Regions from separate parts of the Homo sapiens genome. Here region 1 is linked to region 2. The links are contacts of gene promoters, found by promoter capture Hi-C in human tissues and cell types (Jung and others, 2019). All regions are on one chromosome and are shown on one strand. Each heading gives the region's core, a stretch centred on a gene start or on the middle of the fragment in contact. The rest is flanking DNA. Distances are from core to core; before and after follow the strand shown.

Region 1 (4,051 bases), core at 974-3,473, 86 kb after region 2:
TAACCTTCGAGTGCAGTGTTGCTATGAAATACGGAAATGTGCTAAGGTCTGGCGGATGCCTGGGGGCCTGGGGTCAGTCTGCAGTACACGATAAGCCTCTTTCAAAGAGCTGCCCATCAGCCAGGCCAGACCACTAGGGACACTGCCCTTGGGCCTAGGTTCACTCATTCTGCATCACTGTAATATGCAGGCTGAATGCTCATTCTCTAATCGAACCCATCTTTCTCGAACACCCACAGGGGTATAAGCCATTTTATTGGCCTTTGGGAGAATATAGACATAACCAGACCATGCCCTGTGGGGTGTATGATTTAGAGAAATATTCAGACAAGCTCACAAATAACATAGCATAAAGTTTCATGTGCACAGCACCTAACAGGCAGAGAGGAGGATTAAGGCAGCTGGAAGGAGCAATGGGGTGACAGTTGCTCACGTGACCTCCACACAACCCATCACTGGACACAAAGCCCCAGTCAGTGAACACACCCCCAGTGCCTCCACTGGAGTGACCAATTAAAGGATGGGACCAAGTGTCTCATTCATCTTTGTACCCTGCCTCAGGGGATGGAGGCTGAGGGACTAGGAGATGGACTGGACAGAGAGCGCTGTTGTGCATTCCCAAGGTGTGACAACAGCAGCCAGTATGATTTGAAAGGTCTGCAGAGAGATATAAGAGACAGGCTGGGAGAGACCAGGGATACGAGAGAGGAGAGAGAGCCTGCAGATTTCTCGGCTCCCATCCTAGACCATGAAGACCCCGTGCTCTGGGAATTCCGTGCCTGTCTGGCACACAGATGGTGCTCTGAGGCTAGGAAATCAAGGGGTTTTCTCCAAGTTTGTTTGAAAGCCCTGGAATCGACAGGGAAGTGTTCCTGGGAGAGGGTCTGGCTGTGTCCCCAGGCAAGAGGCCCCATAGTGATTTTCCAGGCCTTTCCTGGAGTGGCCTCACTGTAGCCATTGGGTGGAGGCCACACCAAGATGCACTGGAGCTTGGGTCTAGTCTGCTTCCCAAACCTACACTTGCCCCCTCCACTGCACTGTCTTTGAGATGGAGGAGGTTGATAGAGCCACTCTAGTTATCACTGGTCAGGCAACATCAAGAGTCTAGGTTTGGTCCTGGGCCAGGTTTTTCTTCAACTGGAAAGCATACGGTGAAAGATGATCACACATTCATCAAGTGTTTGAATGACTCACACATAAGCTTGGCAGAAAAACCTTAGTTTTTTCCCAGTTCACTCATGTACTAAGCATTTATCAAGCAACTCTCAGTTGCCTTGTGGCAGACACTGACCTAGGCACTAGGGATATGACAAAGAACTATGCAGGCTGGGCTCAGTGGCTCACACCTGTAAATCACAGCAATTTGGGAGGCTGAGGCCGGAGGATCTCTTGAGCCCAGGAGTTCAAGACCAGCCTGAGAAACATAGTGAGACCTCATCTCTACAAAAAAAACAAAAAATTAGCTGGGTATAGTAGTGTGCATCTGTAGCATTAGCTACACAGGAGACTGAGATGGGAGAATCACTTGAGCCTGGGAGGCTGAGGCTGCAGTGAGCCAAAATTGTACCACTGCACTCCAGCCTGGGTAATGGAGTGAGATTCTGTCTCTATAAAAAATTAATTAATTAATTAATAAAGAGTAATGCAAAGTCCTTGCTTTCATTCAAGTGGATAGAGACATAAACAAGTCTATAATCCATCAAGTGGTGATAAGCGCAAAGAAAAAATAAAAGAAGGTAACAATATAGAGGCCAAGTGGGTCAGTGAGAGGAAGGATGTGCTGCTTTCCATGGGGCGGTCAGCGGGGGCCATGCCAGTAAGCTGACATTTGAGCTGAGACCTGAATAAAAAGAGTAAGCCAAGGGCATAGCTAGGAAAATAATACTCTAAACAGCAGGAACCCCAAAAATGTATTAGGTGTGCAAAGCCCTTGGGCAATATAAATAGATACAGGTCTTCATTTGTTTACATAGTCTAGCAGGAAAGTCCTTGGGGACAAAAATAATTAGAATGTAAGATAGGATATGAAGCTCAAAACCAGTACAAAGGAGGAAAAGATTGCTTTTCATCTGGAAAACTGGAAAGCAAGCGACTTGGACTGGCTCATGCAGAGACAGGATTTGGAATATGTAGAGGGAGGGAGAATGCACCCTGAGGGAAAGAACCGCAGAGGCATGAGGCGACACTGGGGGTGGAGGTATAGAATGAGCATTGTTCTGAAAAATAATTGAAGAGCTATACACGGAAGAGGAACCAGGGTAAGTGTGATATCTCTCAAGGGCAGAGCCAGAATCAATATGTACGCATTTCAAGGAGGCAGATTTCCACTCAATGGAAGAGCAAACTTTTTAACCAAAAAGAATTGCCCAAAAATGAGATAGGCTGCCGGGTGAGGGAGTGAGTTCCCCATCACTGGCTAGACTGGGTGACTTCTCAGGTTCCTTTCAACTCTCAAATTTAATTTCATGCCTCGGGTTTTTTTCTCACTTAAGGATGGCAGGTACCTTGATATTTTTCTCTTGGGGATGGGGCCTGTTTTAGGGGTCTGTAAAGATCAACATTCTCAGACTATAGTTTATTGTTGAGCTGATGAGTTCTTCCTCTCAGGAAGTTTCTCTGGTTTAGACCTGCTCTAGTTTCCTCAATTATGCAGCAATTGCAATAATCTCTACCACCTCCTGCCCACCAACACACACAAACTCATTACCTACAAGGCGAAAGAAGAGGGAAGAGGTATTCTCTTCCTTTGTAAAACATCAGATTGACAAAGGAATCTCCTAAACCGCACTCTGCAGCTTGGGCTGCTAAGACAATCATCCCATTCTAGTGGCTCTAAAGAATTCTGGTCATCGCTGCCTCCCCTTAGCCCCCCAGTGAACTCTCCACTGTGCCGATCCCTTTCTTTACAATGGAGTCTTCCCTAGGCCCACCTCCCAGATTGCCTCAGGCAGAGCAACGCTCAGGCACAGGTGTGGGGAAGGGGCTGGGGTAATGGGGAGGTGGTGAACATGTGGCATTGCATGTGCAGGGCCCACGGTAAAGACAGGGAATGCAGGCATTTGCGGTGTCCTCAAAGATCCTCCAGGAACTCATGGGCAATTTCACCCCACACTGAAAGCACCCCCTCTCTAAAGGCTCCTTGGGGCCTATTTTTTGTTCTGGCCACAAAGCTTGCTTAAGGCTCCCTGCTAATTCTCCTCTTCCTTCAAGCCAGCCTCATTATCGATACTGCATTTGGCAGAGGCAGGAGCATTATTTTATGGACAGTACTTAAGAGCTCTCAGAAAGCAATTTTCTCTGCCCAAGAATGTCCAGGGAAATATAGCATGAGAAGCATATGGCCTGATTCTAAGTTTGGGCACACTTGGGATGTGCCCTCCATCACACATACACACCCACCCTCCCCAGGCACAGCATTCGAGCCTCCCAGGACTCGTCTCTCTCCCTCCCTGGGCTGTTCACCACCTCAATCATTCCTCCTTGCTGCTATAGTTCCAGTACTACTGGGAAGGGGACTGTGGCTGAGACAGACAGGAATGTCGGTGGGGGCGCGGTGGCTTATGCCTGTAATCCCAGCACTTTGGGAGGCCGAGGTGGGCAGATCGCTTGAGGCCAGGAATGAGACCAGCCTGGCCAACGTGGTGAAACCACATCTCTACTAAAAATACAAAAACTAGCCAGGCATTGTATCGCACGCCTGTAATCCCAGCTACTTGGGAGGCTGAGGAACAAGAATAGCTTGAACCCAGGAGGTGGAAGTTGCAGTGAGCCGAGATCGCACCACTGCACTCCAGCCTGGGTAAAAGAGTGAGGTTCTGTGTCAAAAAAAAAAAAAAAAAAAAAAAAAAGACAGGAATGTTGAGGGTATAGAAGTGTTGGTGCATACTAGGTGGACTAAATTTTGGGCCCGGCCCCCAGCAGTGTGTCAGATGTTGAGAGACAATGCCCCCGCCCCATGCCCTACCCACACCCCACCTGGTGTTCAGATGGTCCTGGTACTGCTTCACCTCCCTGCTGCGTGGGTGGCCACTCTCTACCAAGCTGTTGGCAG
Region 2 (4,151 bases), core at 730-3,229:
AGAAAGAAACTGGAAGCAGTGATGGTGAAGGGCAGAATTCCCTGTTATGACTTCCAGGTCTACCACCCACTAGCTGTGTGACTTTGCCTCAGTTTCCTTTTCTGTTACTGCAATTGTTTTTGTAAAGTACTTAGAAGAATGGCTAATACATAGTAAGCACACTCATAGTAAGCACACACCCATCTAGGCACTTGCCCGACACTGCTTTTGCTGGTTGTGTAATCTTTGCCAAGTTGCTCCTTGCCCCTAAGCCTCAGTGTTCTGTCTGCAAGATGGGGATTAGGATATCTCCTACCTCGCAAGGTGGCTGTGAGGATCCAGGGACACAGTTTGTTAAGAGTGTAGCACAGGCCCTCTGCATGGTAAGCATTCACTAAAGGACAGTTATGACTGCCACTAACACTGTAACGTGTCCTGGCTAAGGAGTGAAGGGTCGCTCACAAGTGGCTAAGTCAGGGGGCTTCTTTGGAAGCTGGAATTTGAAGCGGACCGGAAGGCATTCGTAAGATTCAGGTGATCAGATAAGAAAGCATAAACAAAAAAAGGTGAAAGCCTGAGGTTGGAAGGGGTGACCACAAGTCCTGGAAGGCCAGAAGGGGGACTTGTCACTTCTCCCCTGGCCGGCGGGGTCTAGCGGAGCCCCAACTAAGTTGATCTATTTCCGAGCCCCTCTTCTGCAATCTCTGCTCTCACCTTCACGGTCCGCGAGTCTGGGGCTCTGCAAGCCTCCAACACACCCTCCCTCCCTAAGGAATGTGGGCCCCGCTTTCTGGGCCTGCCAGACCGAGCGCCTACCGCTTCCTCCGCAGGCAGGAGCCGGGACGCTGCCTTCACCCCACCCTCCGCCAGGATCCAGTTTCAAAGTCACCTGAAAGCCATTTCCTTCCGCGCCTGCCCCGCCTCTCCCCTCCCAGTAGATCACCTGGAGCTTGCATTTGCCCAGAGCAGCATTTTGGGGCGGGCGCTTGTTTTGTTTTAAATGATACCTCTAGAAATCGTTTGCTGTACACCTGGATAACAAATATACCCCGTGGTTCTAATATCAGCGTCCTATTCCTCCTCCCAAGGAACTAGTGATAGCGCCTAACCAGTGGGCGTTGTTCCTCTTCCGGAGCCCCACTCTGGGCTTCCCTCCTCCGGGCTTGTTGTTCTTCAGGATCTTTACTGATGAATTATTATGGGTTTTTGGATTTATGCTCTTGCTCAAAATGTATTGAATGTCTCTGTCCCCCATCCTCACCCCTTGCCCCCCAGTTTCCAGGTGTGTACCTTTCCATGCATACACGGTCATATACAGAGACATAAAGACAAACGGTTCTCTTTGTTTTATAAAAACGGGTCCTCTATCATCCAGGTTTCTGTGTTTTATTTTTCCTATTTAACAGTTCCTTGTGGAGTTGCCTTCACGTTGTCTCCTTTATCTCTTTCCCGTCAGCTTCTCAGAGGTCTGCATTTACCACTGTAAAGCGTCACAGGGACCGAGTTATGGTGAGGAATTCAAGACATGCCTTTCTGACTTGGAAAAGCGGACACGGCCGGCTCTGGTAGGATTAGGATCCCCAGATCGATCCCGGCTGGTCACTCACTTGGGAAAGCCCTCAGCCCCCTTCGCAGGGCCCGGTGTTCCCTGTCCATACAAGGGGTACGTTCTGGCAGTCCATGCTGTCTCGGGAGGCGGTGATAGCAGGTCTGTGACACCAGGGTGACCCCACCACGTGCGTCTTGGTATCCTAGAGCATCTAGGCTGCCCGGGGGTGCGCGCTCATCACCCTGCGGGCGTTAATCGTTAACCGCGCCCAGGCCTCGCCGCCGCCGCAGCCTTACCCCGGCTCTGGCTCGCCGCGCCGCGAAGGTTGCCCCGGCCCCCGCAGAGCCGCCAATTGCTGGACTGCAGCCGCGAGCTGGAGTCTCCACCCACAGGAAAAATTCCTGGCCCGCCCCTCCCTCGCTCCCTCGCTCCCTCGCTCCCTCGCTCCCTCGCTCCCTCGCTCCCTCGCTCCCTCCTGCCCTCCCGCTGCAGCTCCGGCTCCGCTCGACTTCCTGCCGGGCGCTGGCAAGCCGCGCGCTGCCTGGGGTCTCCGGGGGCCGCGCTTGCAGCTGGCCGAGTCCGGGCCAGCTGAGGGGCTGGCGGTGGGCGGGAGCGGTCGGCGGCCTCAGCCCCTTCAGAGAGCGACTTTCAAACTCGCGCCCGCGTCGCGGCAGCACCTGGGCAGCCCCGCACGCCGTGCGCGTCCCGAGCCCGCGGGGCAGCTACCGCTCGGTGAGTGTCCCCTGATTCTCCTCTCTCCCCTCTTATCTCCCTGCATTAGGCTGAGCGGCGGTGCCGGCAGTCACGCTGGGGCCCCAGTCCCTTCGCGGCCCCCGTGCCAGCCCCCTGCGGGGTGAGGACCGGGGCGACCGAGGAGGGCCTGGAACTGTGTTGGCTGCTTCCCGGGCCACCCTGCCGCAGAGTGCGCGAGCGCAGGAGGGTCGTATGGGGAGACTTTTTCTGTCTTTTTTTCCCTCCACTCCGGAAACAAAAGGGGCAAATGCGCCGGGCGGCTCCAGAGAGGCTCAGTTTGAAATCCAGGAAGCCCGCGAGGCCGCGCGCGCCCGAGGGCTGGTGTTTGGCTGGAGCTGTGGGCCTGGCGGGTGGACCCTTCTGCGCGAGGACCCGAGCCTCGGCTCCTGCCAGCCCCGGAGGCGCCTGCAGCCTGTTCCGGGTTGGCGCCGCACGGTGCTCGCTGTTGGGAATCTCGGCTACCTGTCCGGCAGGGAGGAGAGTGGGGGCCAGAAGCGGGGAGCGGAAAGCCCGGCCACCAGCTGCCTCGACCTCGTCCACTCCTGAAGTCGGTTTGGTTCTTCGCACCCCTACACCCAGCCCTTTGGTTTGGAAAGCCAGTATAAGGCGTGCAAGCTTAAATTTTTAAGGCGTTAAATAGCTACTTTGACTCTTCGGGGCGCCTTTGGAACACAAAAGGAAGAACGGAGGGGAGAATGGAATGGTTGGAGGCTGGAGAGGTGTGGCTTTTGGGGAGGGTGTTGTTAGAGGCCGCGAAAGAGTTTGATCCTCGAGGTCACTCGCTAATCTGTTGGCATATGTAGGTGCCTGTCCCCTGCTCTGGGGGCCCCAGCAGGAGACCCACACTGCGTTCACCTTACGGGGAACCCTGGAGTGGGGGTTCCCAGAGTCTCCCCAGCCGTGCCTCTGCACGCAGCCCAGTCACATGGCCCTTGCTCAAGAAATAATAAGCAGGGAGGGCAATGACAGTCCGGAGCGGGGGAGGGCCTCCCCGTTGAGCACATCGGCCACCTCGCCTTCAGCAGTGTGGTTTTCCGGGCCATCCTTTGTTGGACAAGGATGGGATCCTGAGTGATTAAACCCCAGCTGTTCCCCAGGAGGAAACTAGGGAGTGAGAACCAAAAGTGTACATTTATCTCTCTGTTATACATCTCTCCCCTGTGGTTCCGGGCTGGCCCCCTGGATGCAATGGCCTCACTTCTCCTTTCGACACCTGCTGTCCTCCACTCCCTTCCTGGAAGATAGGACAACCCATTAGCTCCCTGGGTAACTTGCCCTGGGGATGGGGCAGGAAGTTGGGGGAAGAGGTACCCAGAGGCCAAGTCCTAGCTGCTGAGGGAGTGATTTGTTGAAGAGCTGCTTTGGGGGCTTTTCTACTGCCTTTTATTAGAAGTGGCATGGCAGGGGAAGTGGAAAGAGCACTGGCCTGATAGTCCAGCACGGGTTTATGCCTGAGTTTTAGACCTGGCTCTTCTGCATAGCATGGAAGATTGGTAGAGTTGAAGAGTGCGAGTCACTTGGGCTGGGGGGCCCCTTGGATTAGCCTACTTCATTTACTCGTGAAGGCAGCAGAGCCCAGAGGGGTGAGGTGATTTCAGCCTTAGACCCTATTGGCCAAGTAGAAACCAGAGGTCAGATGTCCTCATTGTCTGATCTGTGTTTTCTCCAACATGATCTGGCCAATTCACTTATCTTTTCTGACTCAGTTTCCACATAAATAAAGTGGGATTACTTGCCTGCTCTTCCTCATAGGAGCTGTGGTGAGGATCAAAGGAAGCCTCATTTGTGGAAAGTGCTCCATAAACTCCTGTTAAAACTAAAGGGCTCACAGTGGCTCGGGAGGGAGTCTCCCAAGGGTTTTACAATTTGC

The links. The method cuts DNA at HindIII sites, captures the fragments that hold promoters and counts their contacts. A contact is called where the count stands out against the background at its distance.
Region 1: a contact is called between a fragment that was not itself captured here and the fragment with the promoter of PLEKHG3 in region 2, in 2 of the 25 tissues and cell types used here (H1 embryonic stem cells and thymus).

What each region holds. Positions count from the first base shown.
Region 1 is chr14:64,787,744-64,791,794 of GRCh38, forward strand. SPTB (spectrin beta, erythrocytic) reads right to left here. Exons shown (of 36, transcript NM_001355436.2): 15 at 3,976-4,051. Among named protein-coding and RNA genes, the nearest start is that of MIR7855, 4.1 kb to the left of the region's middle. The HindIII fragment of the contact is 5,305 bases long and covers 1-4,051 here.
Region 2 is chr14:64,702,445-64,706,595 of GRCh38, forward strand. PLEKHG3 (pleckstrin homology and RhoGEF domain containing G3) reads left to right here and starts at 1,980. Exons shown (of 17, transcript NM_001308147.2): 1 at 1,980-2,260. RefSeq lists an enhancer at 259-760. The HindIII fragment of the contact is 6,175 bases long and covers 1-4,151 here.